Linked DNA regions of Homo sapiens: all the other regions are linked to region 4. The links are contacts of gene promoters, found by promoter capture Hi-C in blood cells and fetal thymus (Javierre and others, 2016). All regions are on one chromosome and are shown on one strand. Each heading gives the region's core, a stretch centred on a gene start or on the middle of the fragment in contact. The rest is flanking DNA. Distances are from core to core; before and after follow the strand shown.

Region 1 (2,700 bases), core at 163-2,662, 350 kb before region 4:
GCACAGTGGCTCACACCCATAATCCCAGCAAGCAGGAGGCTGAGGCAAGAGAACGGTTTGAGGCCAGGAGTTCAAAACCAACTTGGGCAACATGGGAGACCCCGTCTCTACAAAAAATTAAAAATTAGCTAGGTGTGGTGGCCGATGCCTGTAATTCCAGTTACTTGGGAGGCTGAAGCAGGAGGATCACTCGAGCCCAAGAGGTGAAGGCTGCAGTGAGTCATGATTGTGACACTGCACTCCAGCCTGGGTGACAGAGTGAGACCCTGTCTCAAAAAAGTAAAATACAATAAAATAAAAGCCCCATCCTCCAGCCCTGCCCAGCAGTGGGAACTGTATTTTTTTTCTTTTCTTTCTTTTTTTACCTTAAACTATTAAAGGAAACTGTAATTTTAAAGTCAGTCTCTCCAGCTGTCTTCTGGAAAGGGCTCTCCAGGGGCAGTACTAATGATAAATTGATACACTTCTCTAGAAAAATACCTAAATATCTAGAAATGGGCCACATCCTTCCTGATACATTGTGGGACCAGGCCTTCCCCTGGATGCCAAGAGCAGCAGGACGTGTGCTGGGATGGGGGAAGACAGAGGGTGGGTAACAAAGGTGAGAGGACTTATTTTATTTCCCTTTTTCTAACACATAAGCCATCTCAGATTTGAGCTTAATCATTTAATCCACTCTATAATAGTTGTCATGATTACAGTCTCTGTTTACAACACTGAGGGGTTTTAAAATCCTGTATCCTATTCTATTTAGATCAGTTTTTTTTTGTTTTTTTTAAAAAAAAGAAGAGTTATCTACCCAGCAATCTGTTTCCCTGTCTGGGGGAGGGGGTTGCATGCAGGCTGGGGGACAAGACGGGCAGCTGGAGGTGCCAAGATCAATGGCCTCAAGGGGTGCTCCCAACTGGGTGCTTTTTCCCATACAACCTAGCGCTATGCAGGTGCTGAAGGTGACACCTCTGCTCTTGAGATCTGGCTCTGAGTAGGCCTGAGGTGCACGCCCCTCTGCTCTCTCCTCCCCTCTCCCTTCCCTCCCCAGAGAGAAAACACTCACTTGCCAGGTTTATCCAGAAGCCCCCCCGCAGGGCACTGGCAGCACATCAGGATGTACTCCTGCAGGGCCTGCTGATGGAACATCCAGTGGCTCATGCTAAGGGCAGGGTCACCTGTTGAAGGGCAAAGGGTCAGTAAGGGCCCGGCAGATCCAGCCAAGTATCAATGACCTAATTCCACTTTCTCACCTGGGGGAATAGTCAAGGTTTCCTGCTCCCCTTCCTCTTCCATTCATTCTTGGTACAACTGCTATCTTCCCCATGTCCTACGCACAGCATGTCCCTTCTCCTGAACTTTGACATGTGTCAAAGAGCAGCAATTCAAAGTGGCACTTTCACTTTCTTGAAATGCACCCTGTTAACGTGGATGGTGATCCTCAACCACATCTCTGGCAGGCAGTGAACCAGCCTAGCTGTTTAGCTTACCTTCCCAGACTGACCTCGGTAGCTGCTCCCAACTTGGTCCATAACTCTACCCTGGACTTCAAGAGACATTCCCTCTAGCATATCTCTATAACTTGTTAACCAGACTGATTAGCTCAGAGAACTCTTAATGGGTAATAAAGTCTGTTTCTTCTACTTTTCTAAGCCTAAATTTAATTGATCTCCAAAGGGAATTCTCTAACTTGTCTCTCAGCTCAAAGAATTTACCTAAGAAACATTACTAGTAACTGCCCTCCTGCATCATATGATACCCTAGCAAAAACTGGGTATTCTGGTAATACTACTAAGGTACTGACAAGCAACTGGACTTCTTCACTCTGAAGTCCAATCACTATGGTCAAAGAATTCTGTGGGCCACACAGTTATCAAGTGGGAAGGAGGGACAAATCACGGACAGGTGTGCAGAAACATCTGCATAGAAATCGATTAAAAATATATATACATATAGGATGTACACTAAGTCCTTGGTCAATTTTATATTTTGATACCTGGGCTAAAAGATGCCTGACAATAAATCATTTTTAAAAAAAAGATGCCCAACAATTGGTAAATGGCACCTGAAAGCTAATTGTTCTTTCTTCCAGTCTTTTTGGTTCTATGCGTTTTTCTACCTAGTTATTATAACTGTGTAGCTTATGTTTTTCACTTATACCACTATAGGCATAAATTTTCTATTCTATTACATAATCTGCATAGCCATCACTGTGAATAGCCATATAGTATTTCATTAAGTGGACATATAAGGTAACTGTATCATAAAAAGAACTGAGCTAAAAATCTTATATATATGTCAGTATATAAATTCCTATGGTGGGCCAGGCACGATGGCTTATGCCTGTAATCCCAGCACTTTGGGAGGCTGAGGGGGGTTGATCACGAGGTCAGGAGATCGAGACCATCCCGGCTAACACGGTGAAACCCTGTCTCTACTAAAAATACAAAAAAATTAGCCGGACATGGTGGTGGGCGCCTGTAGTCCCAGCTACTCAGGAGGCTGAGGCAGGAGAATGGCGTGAACCCAGGAGGCGGAGTTTGCAGTGAGCTGAGATCACACCACTGCACTCCAGCCTGGGCGACACAGCGAGACTCCATCTCAAAAAAAAAAAAAAATTCCTATGGTGAAAATTATAAAAGTTTATGGTATCAATAACCTTTCCCATTTTGGAGAAAATAGCAAAAAAGAAAAACGGGGGAAAAGATTTCT
Region 2 (2,700 bases), core at 177-2,676, 270 kb before region 4:
TAAGGGTGGTGCAAGATGTGCTTTGTTAAACAGATGCTTGAAGGCAGCATGCTCCTTAAGAGTCATCACCACTCCCTAATCTCAAGTACCCAGGGACACAAACACTGCGGAAGGCCGCAGGGACCTCTGCATAGGAAAGCCAGGTATTGTCCAAGGTTTCTCCCCATGTGATAGTCTGAAATATGGCCTCGTGGGAAGGGAAAGACCTGACCGTCCCCCAGCCCGACACCCGTAAAGGGTCTGTGCTGAGGAGGATTAGTAAAAGAGGAAGGAATGCCTCTTGCAGTTGAGACAAGAGGAAGGCATCTGTCTCCTGCCTGTCCCTGGGCAATGGAATGTCTCGGTATAAAACCCGATTGTATGCTCCATCTACTGAGATAGGGAAAAACCGCCTTAGGGCTGGAGGTGGGACCTGCGGGCAGCAATACTGCTTTGTAAAGCATTGAGATATTTATGTGTATGCATATCTAAAAGCACAGCACTTAATCCTTTACATTGTCTATGATGCAAAGACCTTTGTTCACGTGTTTGTCTGCTGACCCTCTCCCCACAATTGTCTTGTGACCCTGACACATCCCCCTCTTCGAGAAACACCCACAGATGATCAATAAATACTAAGGGAACTCAGAGGCTGGCGGGATCCTCCATATGCTGAACGCTGGTTCCCCGGGTCCCCTTATTTCTTTCTCTATACTTTGTCTCTGTGTCTTTTTCTTTTCCAAATCTCTCGTCCCACCTTACGAGAAACACCCACAGGTGTGTAGGGGCAACCCACCCCTACACTCCATAATCAAAAGAACGTCATGCCACATGTTCTAGAAGTTAAAAACCTCAATTAACAAAGAGGTCTCTTTCAGTGTTTCACTCCACTGGACAAACGGTATCCCTTTGTAGATTCAAAATAATTTTCTGGACAGATTTAGTGACATCTTTCCAATGTATATTATTACTACTCCTTTCAAACAATCTTTTTCAAGTCTGCTAATTTAGAACTACAGGGTCAACTCTCCCCTGTCCTGTTGACAGAGCCCTTCTTCCCCTGCTGTCTACAAGGCAGTCTTAGAGGGGTCTTAAGTGTATAGTTAGGTAAAAAAGGAGACCCTATAAGTCCTGATATGTGAGAGACCTGGGGTATGGCGTCTCTTTGTCTTTGGTTGGCAGGCACTCTCTCTGATCCTTCCTGCAAGGCAGATCTTATAAAGAACAATGTCGGCCGGGCGCGGTGGCTCACGCCTGTAATCCCAGCACTTTGGGAGGCTGAGGCGGGCGGATCACAAGGTCAGGAGATCGAGACCATCCTGGCTAACAGGGTGAAACCCCGTCTCTACTAAAAATACAAAAAAATTAGCCGGACATGGTGGCGGACGCCTGTAGTTCCAGCTACTCAGGAGGCTGAGGCAGGAGAATGGTGTGAACCCGAGAGGCGGAACTTGCAGTGAGCTGAGATCGCACCACTGCACTCCAGCCTGGGTGACAGAGTGAGACTCCGTCTCAAAAAAAAAAAAAAAGAGATTAGGACATTGATAGGCACAGGTGGAACACCATGTGAACGTGAAGACAGCCATCTACAGCCAAGGAGATCCCTCATGAGAAACCAACCCTGCTGACACCTTCATCTCATACTTCTGACTGCCACAATTGTGGGAAATAAATTCCTGGTGTTTTTGTGTGTGTTTTTGTTTGTTTGTTTGTTTTAAGACGGAGTCTTGTTCTGTTGCCCAGGCTGGAGTGCAATGGCGTGATCTTGGCTCACTGCAACCTCCGCCTCCTGGGCTCAAGCGATTCTCCTGTCTCATCCTTCCAAGTAGCTGGGATTACAGGCATGGGCCACCATGCCTGGCTAATTTTTGTATTTTTAGTAGAGACGGGGTTTCACCATGTTGGCCAGGCTGGTCTCGAACTCTTGACCTCATGACCTGCCCGCCTTGGGCTCCCTAAGTGCTGGGATTACAGGCGTGAGCCACCACGCCCAGCCAAATTCCTGTTGTTTAAGCCACCCAGTCTCTGGTACTTTGTTATGGCATCCCTAGAAAACTGATGCAGTCATGAAGGTGGTGGCCAGGACACTAAGGACAACCTGAAATGGTACTGTGGGTCATTTTGTGTCAACATCAATTACCATCAGAATTGTTTCCTGTGGTTCCCAGCCCTCAAATGCACGTGTCTCTGATAATTTGCCTCCTCCCCTCTTTCCTTGTCATTTGAGTATCTTTCCTCCATTCTCTATTTAGTCAGGGGAAAACAAAGAAAAAGCATGTGAATGGAGGACAGTACTGAGACCGTGGTAGAGGGGATGTGTCCTGTTTCTTTCAATCACGAGGTAAGGAGGAAATCCTTCTGCACCGCGGGCACATCACTAACAGTCCCCCAGAGTAGGAAACACAGGGTAAGTCTAGAAGAGGCGGGTGTTTCACTAACGGGGAGCCCCATGGTCCAGCCGCGTTGAGTCTTGGTGATGGACTGCCTATTGGTGCAACTCTCCAGCTGTTCAGCTGTTGCTATGGCAGGTCCCACAGTGGTGCCTTTGGGTGCATGCTCAGTGTGGCTGGGGTGGGGATGGGGTGGATGGGGGCAGGCACTTGTCTCCCTGGTTGAAGAATCAGTATCACATAATTGAGAGACTGATTCTAGGAGGATTCTAGTGGAAAAGATGTTCAGCAACCATTCCTCAGATGTCTCCCAGTTCTACTGAAATGTGCC
Region 3 (2,700 bases), core at 190-2,689, 320 kb before region 4:
AGACTTAAGGCCTAGGATAAGTTATAAAAATTATAGCTATGTTCTGCACAATTGGGCAGGTTTAAAAAAAAAAAAACAGAAAAAAAGATTACAGCTTTGGAAATAGGAACAGTCATCCATGGGCAGAACGGCTTAGGAGGGGATGTAAATGCAAGATGCATGAGCTGGCATCACATCAAGCTTGTTCTCGTACTAACTAAAACAGCTTCAGCTTGATATAGTGAAGAGGAAATCTCCTTCCCTAGGTAGAATATGACAATGGACAGGTGAAGACGGGCAGCATCTCTTGTTGATTCCGGGTGGCCTCTGCTGCTCACAGAGTCAGACGTGTTATTTGACTCTTCATCAAGCACCGGCAAGTCTCTGGATGGCTGCTGTTCTGGAAGAATGGTCAGGTCGAAAGTTGGCTACTATAGGCCGGGCGCAGTGGCTCACGCCTATAATCCTAGCACTTTGGGAGGCCGACGTGGGCGGATCACTTAAGGCCAGGAGTTTGAGACCAGCCTGGCCAACATGGTGAAACCCCATCTCTACTAAAAATACAAAAATTAGCCAGGCATAGTGGCATGCGCCCGTAGTCCCAGCTGCTTGGGAGGCTGAAGCACGAGAATCGCTTGAACCCGGAAGGTGGAAGTTGCAGTGAGCTGAGATTGCACCAGTGCCCTCCAGCCTGGGGGACACAGCAAGACTGCCTCAAAGGAAAAAAAAGTTGGCTACTTTAGAGCAGAGTTTCTCAACTGTTGACACTGGGGCTCAGTAATTCTTTGGTGCAGGGACCGTCCTGTAGAGGATATTTAGCAGCACCTCTGACCTGCACCCACCAGGTGCCAACAGCACCTGGCCAGGAAAAATGCCCAGGAGACAAAGGCCTAGATATGGTGTCCTCACTGAAAGGTAAGGAAACATACAAACTAGACTTAAAAATTAAAAGGAAAAATATTTAAGGGGCTATTCCGGGGATAAGCTACTAACAACCTTTTGAAAGGGAAAGGATAAAACACTGAAATAGCAAAATTTGAATTTATCTTTGGAAAAATCTTACAAGCTGAAATGTCCTAAAATGGTTTTTAAGTTAAAGGCAATTTTTAAATCTTACAGAAGCTAAAAACATAACTTTAACAGTGCGATGGTCTCCCTGTGAATTTTATTTTGCTCTGTTTCACTGAAGCTGCTTTCAGTAACAAAGAATGGGATTCTCATTAGAGGATGCTTCCTTCAGTGCCAAAACCATTAAGCAAAGCAAATGTACTTAGTCTAGTTCCAAAATATTAATTCATTTTAGATAAACACATATAAATGTGTGCATATAACCTCTTAAAAGAGGGAAGCTAGGCCGGGTGCGGTGGCTCACATCTGTAATCCCAACACTTTGGGAAGCCAAGACAGGTGTATCACCTGAGGTCAGGAGTTCAAGACCAGCCTGGCCAACATGTTGAAAGCCTGTCTTTACAAAATACAAAAATTAGCTGGGCGTGGTGGCACACCCCTGTAATCCTAGCTACTTGGGAAGCTGAGGCAGGAGAATCACTTGAACCCGGGAGGTGGAGGTTGCAGTGAGCTGAGATCATGCCACTGCACTACAGCCTGGCAACAAGAGCAAAACTCCGTCTCAAAAAAAAAAAAAAAAGGCCGGGCGCGGTGGCTCATGCCTGTAATCCCAGCACTTTGGGAGGCTGAGGCAGGTGGATCACCTGAGGTCAGGAGTTCGAGACCAACTTGGCCAACATGGTAAAACCCAATCTCTACTAAAAATACAAAAATTAGCCGGGTGTGGTGGCTCCCGCCTGTATGCCTGTAGTCCCAGCTACTCGGGAGGCCGAGGCAGGAGAATTGCTTGAACCCAGGAGGTGGAGGTTGCAGTGAGCCAAGATCGTGCCACTGCACTCCAGTCTGGGCAACAGAGCGAGACTCTCAAAAAAAAAAGAGGCAAGCTGAAGTCCTACCTATGGACTGGGCATGGTGGCTCACGCCTATAATCCCAGTGTTTTGGGAGGCTAAGGCAGGAGGATCAATTGAGCCCAGGAGATTGAGACCAGCCCAGGCAACACAGCAAGGCACTGTCTCTACCAAAAATAAAGAAAACATTCCAGGCTATGAATACATTATTCTTGAAACCTCTGATACCAGCAGTAACAACCTCGCCTTGCTGGCTTTGGTCAGCGGTCATAGCAGCTGACAAAAGTATTTTGTCCACTAGAGGGAACCCAGCTTATCATATTGTTCCCTAAACAAATAGAAGCACAGCAGTGAACAAAATAGGAAAGAGAAACCTTTGTGTAAGTGTAGGGGGCGTGTGTGTTACATGCAGGGGAAAAGAAGGCAGGAAAATAATAAAACTGCAGAGCTAGACTTTTTGACTCTAGGTCACCTTAATATATTTGTATGAAGAAAGAAAACTGAACGCATTTCAAAGCATTTCATTTCCCTGTGCAAGATAAATAAAAAGGCAATATTCTATTTCAGCTAGTCTAAAAAAAATCTTCTATTTATATAGAAGTCCTTAAGATTTATCTGTATCTTACTAAAAATAATCTATTTCCTTATGGGTCAGAGCCAGTAGGCTTTGTTCATAACAAGTGTTTTCTGCACCTAGAAGTAACCACCTCCTAGGCACAAAGCAAAATACATTATTGGGAAGTCTAAGAAATGTTTAAAAGTTCACTAAATCAATGCGTAGAAGAACCACAGGTAAAGCTTTTA
Region 4 (2,700 bases), core at 50-2,549:
CAACGGGGAGGCCCTCCCCCGCTCCGGACTGTCATTGCCCTCCCTGCTTATTATTTCTTGAGCAAGGGCCATGTGACTGGGCTGCGTGCAGAGGCACGGCTGGGGAGACTCTGGGAACCCCCACTCCAGGGTTCCCCGTAAGGTGAACGCAGTGTGGGTCTCCTGCTGGGGCCCCCAGAGCAGGGGACAGGCACCTACATATGCCAACAGATTAGCGAGTGACCTCGAGGATCAAACTCTTTCGCGGCCTCTAACAACACCCTCCCCAAAAGCCACACCTCTCCAGCCTCCAACCATTCCATTCTCCCCTCCGTTCTTCCTTTTGTGTTCCAAAGGCGCCCCGAAGAGTCAAAGTAGCTATTTAACGCCTTAAAAATTTAAGCTTGCACGCCTTATACTGGCTTTCCAAACCAAAGGGCTGGGTGTAGGGGTGCGAAGAACCAAACCGACTTCAGGAGTGGACGAGGTCGAGGCAGCTGGTGGCCGGGCTTTCCGCTCCCCGCTTCTGGCCCCCACTCTCCTCCCTGCCGGACAGGTAGCCGAGATTCCCAACAGCGAGCACCGTGCGGCGCCAACCCGGAACAGGCTGCAGGCGCCTCCGGGGCTGGCAGGAGCCGAGGCTCGGGTCCTCGCGCAGAAGGGTCCACCCGCCAGGCCCACAGCTCCAGCCAAACACCAGCCCTCGGGCGCGCGCGGCCTCGCGGGCTTCCTGGATTTCAAACTGAGCCTCTCTGGAGCCGCCCGGCGCATTTGCCCCTTTTGTTTCCGGAGTGGAGGGAAAAAAAGACAGAAAAAGTCTCCCCATACGACCCTCCTGCGCTCGCGCACTCTGCGGCAGGGTGGCCCGGGAAGCAGCCAACACAGTTCCAGGCCCTCCTCGGTCGCCCCGGTCCTCACCCCGCAGGGGGCTGGCACGGGGGCCGCGAAGGGACTGGGGCCCCAGCGTGACTGCCGGCACCGCCGCTCAGCCTAATGCAGGGAGATAAGAGGGGAGAGAGGAGAATCAGGGGACACTCACCGAGCGGTAGCTGCCCCGCGGGCTCGGGACGCGCACGGCGTGCGGGGCTGCCCAGGTGCTGCCGCGACGCGGGCGCGAGTTTGAAAGTCGCTCTCTGAAGGGGCTGAGGCCGCCGACCGCTCCCGCCCACCGCCAGCCCCTCAGCTGGCCCGGACTCGGCCAGCTGCAAGCGCGGCCCCCGGAGACCCCAGGCAGCGCGCGGCTTGCCAGCGCCCGGCAGGAAGTCGAGCGGAGCCGGAGCTGCAGCGGGAGGGCAGGAGGGAGCGAGGGAGCGAGGGAGCGAGGGAGCGAGGGAGCGAGGGAGCGAGGGAGCGAGGGAGGGGCGGGCCAGGAATTTTTCCTGTGGGTGGAGACTCCAGCTCGCGGCTGCAGTCCAGCAATTGGCGGCTCTGCGGGGGCCGGGGCAACCTTCGCGGCGCGGCGAGCCAGAGCCGGGGTAAGGCTGCGGCGGCGGCGAGGCCTGGGCGCGGTTAACGATTAACGCCCGCAGGGTGATGAGCGCGCACCCCCGGGCAGCCTAGATGCTCTAGGATACCAAGACGCACGTGGTGGGGTCACCCTGGTGTCACAGACCTGCTATCACCGCCTCCCGAGACAGCATGGACTGCCAGAACGTACCCCTTGTATGGACAGGGAACACCGGGCCCTGCGAAGGGGGCTGAGGGCTTTCCCAAGTGAGTGACCAGCCGGGATCGATCTGGGGATCCTAATCCTACCAGAGCCGGCCGTGTCCGCTTTTCCAAGTCAGAAAGGCATGTCTTGAATTCCTCACCATAACTCGGTCCCTGTGACGCTTTACAGTGGTAAATGCAGACCTCTGAGAAGCTGACGGGAAAGAGATAAAGGAGACAACGTGAAGGCAACTCCACAAGGAACTGTTAAATAGGAAAAATAAAACACAGAAACCTGGATGATAGAGGACCCGTTTTTATAAAACAAAGAGAACCGTTTGTCTTTATGTCTCTGTATATGACCGTGTATGCATGGAAAGGTACACACCTGGAAACTGGGGGGCAAGGGGTGAGGATGGGGGACAGAGACATTCAATACATTTTGAGCAAGAGCATAAATCCAAAAACCCATAATAATTCATCAGTAAAGATCCTGAAGAACAACAAGCCCGGAGGAGGGAAGCCCAGAGTGGGGCTCCGGAAGAGGAACAACGCCCACTGGTTAGGCGCTATCACTAGTTCCTTGGGAGGAGGAATAGGACGCTGATATTAGAACCACGGGGTATATTTGTTATCCAGGTGTACAGCAAACGATTTCTAGAGGTATCATTTAAAACAAAACAAGCGCCCGCCCCAAAATGCTGCTCTGGGCAAATGCAAGCTCCAGGTGATCTACTGGGAGGGGAGAGGCGGGGCAGGCGCGGAAGGAAATGGCTTTCAGGTGACTTTGAAACTGGATCCTGGCGGAGGGTGGGGTGAAGGCAGCGTCCCGGCTCCTGCCTGCGGAGGAAGCGGTAGGCGCTCGGTCTGGCAGGCCCAGAAAGCGGGGCCCACATTCCTTAGGGAGGGAGGGTGTGTTGGAGGCTTGCAGAGCCCCAGACTCGCGGACCGTGAAGGTGAGAGCAGAGATTGCAGAAGAGGGGCTCGGAAATAGATCAACTTAGTTGGGGCTCCGCTAGACCCCGCCGGCCAGGGGAGAAGTGACAAGTCCCCCTTCTGGCCTTCCAGGAC
Region 5 (2,700 bases), core at 1-2,500, 380 kb before region 4:
GTTTAAGGCTGACAGTTCATTCGGTAACCTATGTCTATAGCATATCTGAGCTGCTAGAGGGATTGTCGTTTAAATGAAATGTAAACTATAGCCCTATCCACTTCTCCTCATTACTCATTAAGGTTATATTAGCTAGTCAGACTCCAACTTGGGCAATTATCTTTTTAAAGTTTCTACATCTTAAATTGTTGCCCATAGTTGCCCAAGTCTCCCTTAGGCTCCAGGCTCAGCAATTGTAAATGCATTTAATTTCTTATAAATTATTTGCATGCTGCTGAAAACCTCCAAGGGCTTTTCATTGCCCATTTAGGTAAGGACTGGTATTCCATGTTCTGTAAATAAGATACCCAGCTTACCTACCTGCTTTTTCGCCTCCTTCCTGACATTAACCTTCCAGTTACTATACACCCTTGTATTAGTCCGTTTTCGTGCTGCTGATAAAGACATACCTGAGACTGGGCAATTTACAAAAGAAGGAGGTTTAGTGGACTTACAGTTCCACGTGGCTGGAAGGAAGCCTCACAATCATGGCGAAGGCAAGGAGGAGCAAGTCATGTCTTACATGGATGGCAGCAGGCAAAGAGAGAGAGCTTGTGCAGGGAAACTCCTGTTTTTAAAACCATCAGATCTTGCAAGACTTATTCACTATCACGAGAACAGCATGGGAAAGACCTGTCCCCGTGATTCAATTACCTCCCACCGAGTTCCTGCCACAACACATGGGAATTACAATTCAAGATGAGATTTGGGTGGAGACACAGCCAAACTATATTATTCTGCTCCTGGCCCCTCCCAAATCTCATGTCCTCACATTTCAAAACCAATCGTGCCTTGTCTTAACTCATTTCAGCATTAACTCAGAAGTCCACAGTGCAAAGTCTCATCTGGGACAAGACAAGTCCTTTCTGCCTATGAGCCTGTAAAATCAAAAGCAAGTTAGTTACTTCCTAGATAGAGTGGGGGTACAGGCATTGGATAAACACAGCCATTCCAAATGGGAGAAATCGGTCAAAAAAAGGGGCTACAGGCCTCATGCAAGTCCAAAATCCAGCAGGGCAGTCAAATCTAAAAGCCCTGTAATGATCTCCTTTGACTCCATGTCTCACATAGAGGTCATGCTGATACAAAAGGTGGGTTCCTTTGGTCTTGCATAGCTCTACCCTTGTGGCTTTGCAAGGTACAGCCTCCTTCCTGGCTGCTTTCACAGGCTGGCATTGAGTGTCTGCAGCTTTTCCAGGTGCACAGTGCAAGATGTCAGTCAGTGGATCTACCATTCTGGGGTCTGCAGGATGGTGGCACTCTTCTCACAGCTCCACTAGAGAGGGCCCCAGTAGAGACTGTGTGGGGGCTCTGACCCCACATTTCCTGTCTGCACTGCCGTAGCAGAGGTCCTCCATGAGGGCCCTGTCCCTTCAGCAAACTTCTCCCTGGACATACAGGTGTTTCCATACTCCATCCTCTGAAATCTAGGCAGAGGTTCCCAAACCCCAATTCTTGACTTCTGTTCACTCCCAGGCTCAATACCATGAGGAAGCTGCCAAGGCTTGGGGCTGGCACCCTCTGAAGCCGCAACCTGAGCTCTGCATTGGGCCCTTTCAGCCACGACTGGAGTGGCCGGGATGCAGGGCACCAAGTCCCTAGGCTGCATACAACCTGTGGACCCTGGGCCCAGCCCACAAGACCAGTTTTTCCTCCTAGGCCTCTGGGTCTGTGATGGGAACAGCTGCTGTGAAGATCTCTGACATGCCCTGGAGACATTTTCCCCATTGTCTTGGGGATTAACATTCGGCTTCTCATTACTTATGCAAATCTCTGCAGCTGGCTTGAATTTCTTCTCAGAAAATGGGATTTTCTTTTCTATCACATTGTCAGGCTACAAATTTTCTGAACTTTTATGCTCTGCTTCTCTTATAAAACTGAATGCCTTTTACAGCACCCAAGTCACCTCTTGAATGCTTTGCTGCTTAGAAATTTCTTCCTCCAGATACCCTAAATCATCTCTGTGAAGTTCAAAGTTCCACTTATCTCTAGCGTAGGGGCAAAATGCTGCCAATCTCTTTGCTGAAACGTAACAGGAGTCACCTTTGCTCTAGTTCTCAACAAGTTCCTCATCTCCATCTGAGACCACCTCAGCCTGGACTTTATTGTCCATATCATTATCAGCATTTTGGGCAAAGCCATTCAACAAGTCCTTAGGAAGTTTGAAACTTTCCCACATTTTTCTGTCTTCTTCTGAGCCCTTCAAATTGTTCCAACCTCTGCCTGTTACCTAGTTCCAAAGTTGCTTCCACATTTTCAGGTATCTTTTCAGCAGTGCCCTACTCTACTGGTACCAATTTACTGCATTTAGTCCATTTTCATGCTGCTGATAAAGACATACCTGAGACTGGGCAATTTACAAAAGAAAGAGGTTTAATGACTTACAGTTACATATGGCTGGGGAGGCCTCACAATCATGGTGGAAGGCAAGGAGAAGCAAGTCACGTTTTACATGGATGGCAGCAGGCGAAGAGAACTTGTGCAGGGAAACTGCTGTTTTTAAAACCATCAGCTCTCACGAAATTTATTCCCTATCACAAGAACAACATGGGAAAGACCAACCCCCATGATTCAATTACTGCTCACTAGGTTCCTCCCCCGACACATGGGAATTGTGGGAGTTAAATTCAAGATGAGATTTGGGTAGGGACACAGCCAAAC

The links. Contacts are between HindIII fragments. The CHiCAGO score rates a contact against its expected background, and 5 or more counts as called.
Region 1: a fragment that was not itself captured here is called in contact with the fragment with the promoter of PLEKHG3 in region 4 in 1 of 17 cell types (neutrophils); the score reaches 6.8 in neutrophils.
Region 2: a contact is called between a fragment that was not itself captured here and the fragment with the promoter of PLEKHG3 in region 4, in 2 of 17 cell types (neutrophils and erythroblasts). The highest score is 7.3, in neutrophils.
Region 3: a contact is called between a fragment that was not itself captured here and the fragment with the promoter of PLEKHG3 in region 4, in 1 of 17 cell types (neutrophils). The highest score is 6.1, in neutrophils.
Region 5: a fragment that was not itself captured here is called in contact with the fragment with the promoter of PLEKHG3 in region 4 in 1 of 17 cell types (neutrophils); the score reaches 6.0 in neutrophils.

Annotation. Positions count from the first base shown.
Region 1 is chr14:65,051,704-65,054,403 of GRCh38, reverse strand. It overlaps CHURC1-FNTB (CHURC1-FNTB readthrough), which reads right to left. Exons shown (of 14, transcript NM_001202559.1): 12 at 1,055-1,166. FNTB (farnesyltransferase, CAAX box, subunit beta) reads right to left here. Exons shown (of 12, transcript NM_002028.4): 10 at 1,055-1,166. It also overlaps a transcript of MAX not described here. Among named protein-coding and RNA genes, the nearest start is that of MIR4706, 8.4 kb to the right of the region's middle. The HindIII fragment of the contact is 3,610 bases long and covers 1-2,700 here.
Region 2 is chr14:64,976,670-64,979,369 of GRCh38, reverse strand. The region is part of intron 3 of CHURC1-FNTB (CHURC1-FNTB readthrough); the gene reads right to left. Among named protein-coding and RNA genes, the nearest start is that of RAB15, 5.7 kb to the right of the region's middle. The HindIII fragment of the contact is 3,747 bases long and covers 1-2,700 here.
Region 3 is chr14:65,019,661-65,022,360 of GRCh38, reverse strand. All of the region lies in intron 6 of CHURC1-FNTB (CHURC1-FNTB readthrough), which reads right to left. All of the region lies in intron 4 of FNTB (farnesyltransferase, CAAX box, subunit beta), which reads right to left. It also overlaps a transcript of MAX not described here. Among named protein-coding and RNA genes, the nearest start is that of MIR4706, 24 kb to the left of the region's middle. RefSeq lists a silencer at 2,291-2,340. The HindIII fragment of the contact is 2,514 bases long and covers 183-2,696 here.
Region 4 is chr14:64,703,023-64,705,722 of GRCh38, reverse strand. PLEKHG3 (pleckstrin homology and RhoGEF domain containing G3) reads right to left here and starts at 1,299. Exons shown (of 17, transcript NM_001308147.2): 1 at 1,019-1,299. RefSeq lists an enhancer at 2,519-2,700. The HindIII fragment of the contact is 3,721 bases long and covers 385-2,700 here.
Region 5 is chr14:65,085,901-65,088,600 of GRCh38, reverse strand. All of the region lies in intron 3 of MAX (MYC associated factor X), which reads left to right. Among named protein-coding and RNA genes, the nearest start is that of MAX-AS1, 2.7 kb to the left of the region's middle. The HindIII fragment of the contact is 7,059 bases long and covers 1-2,700 here.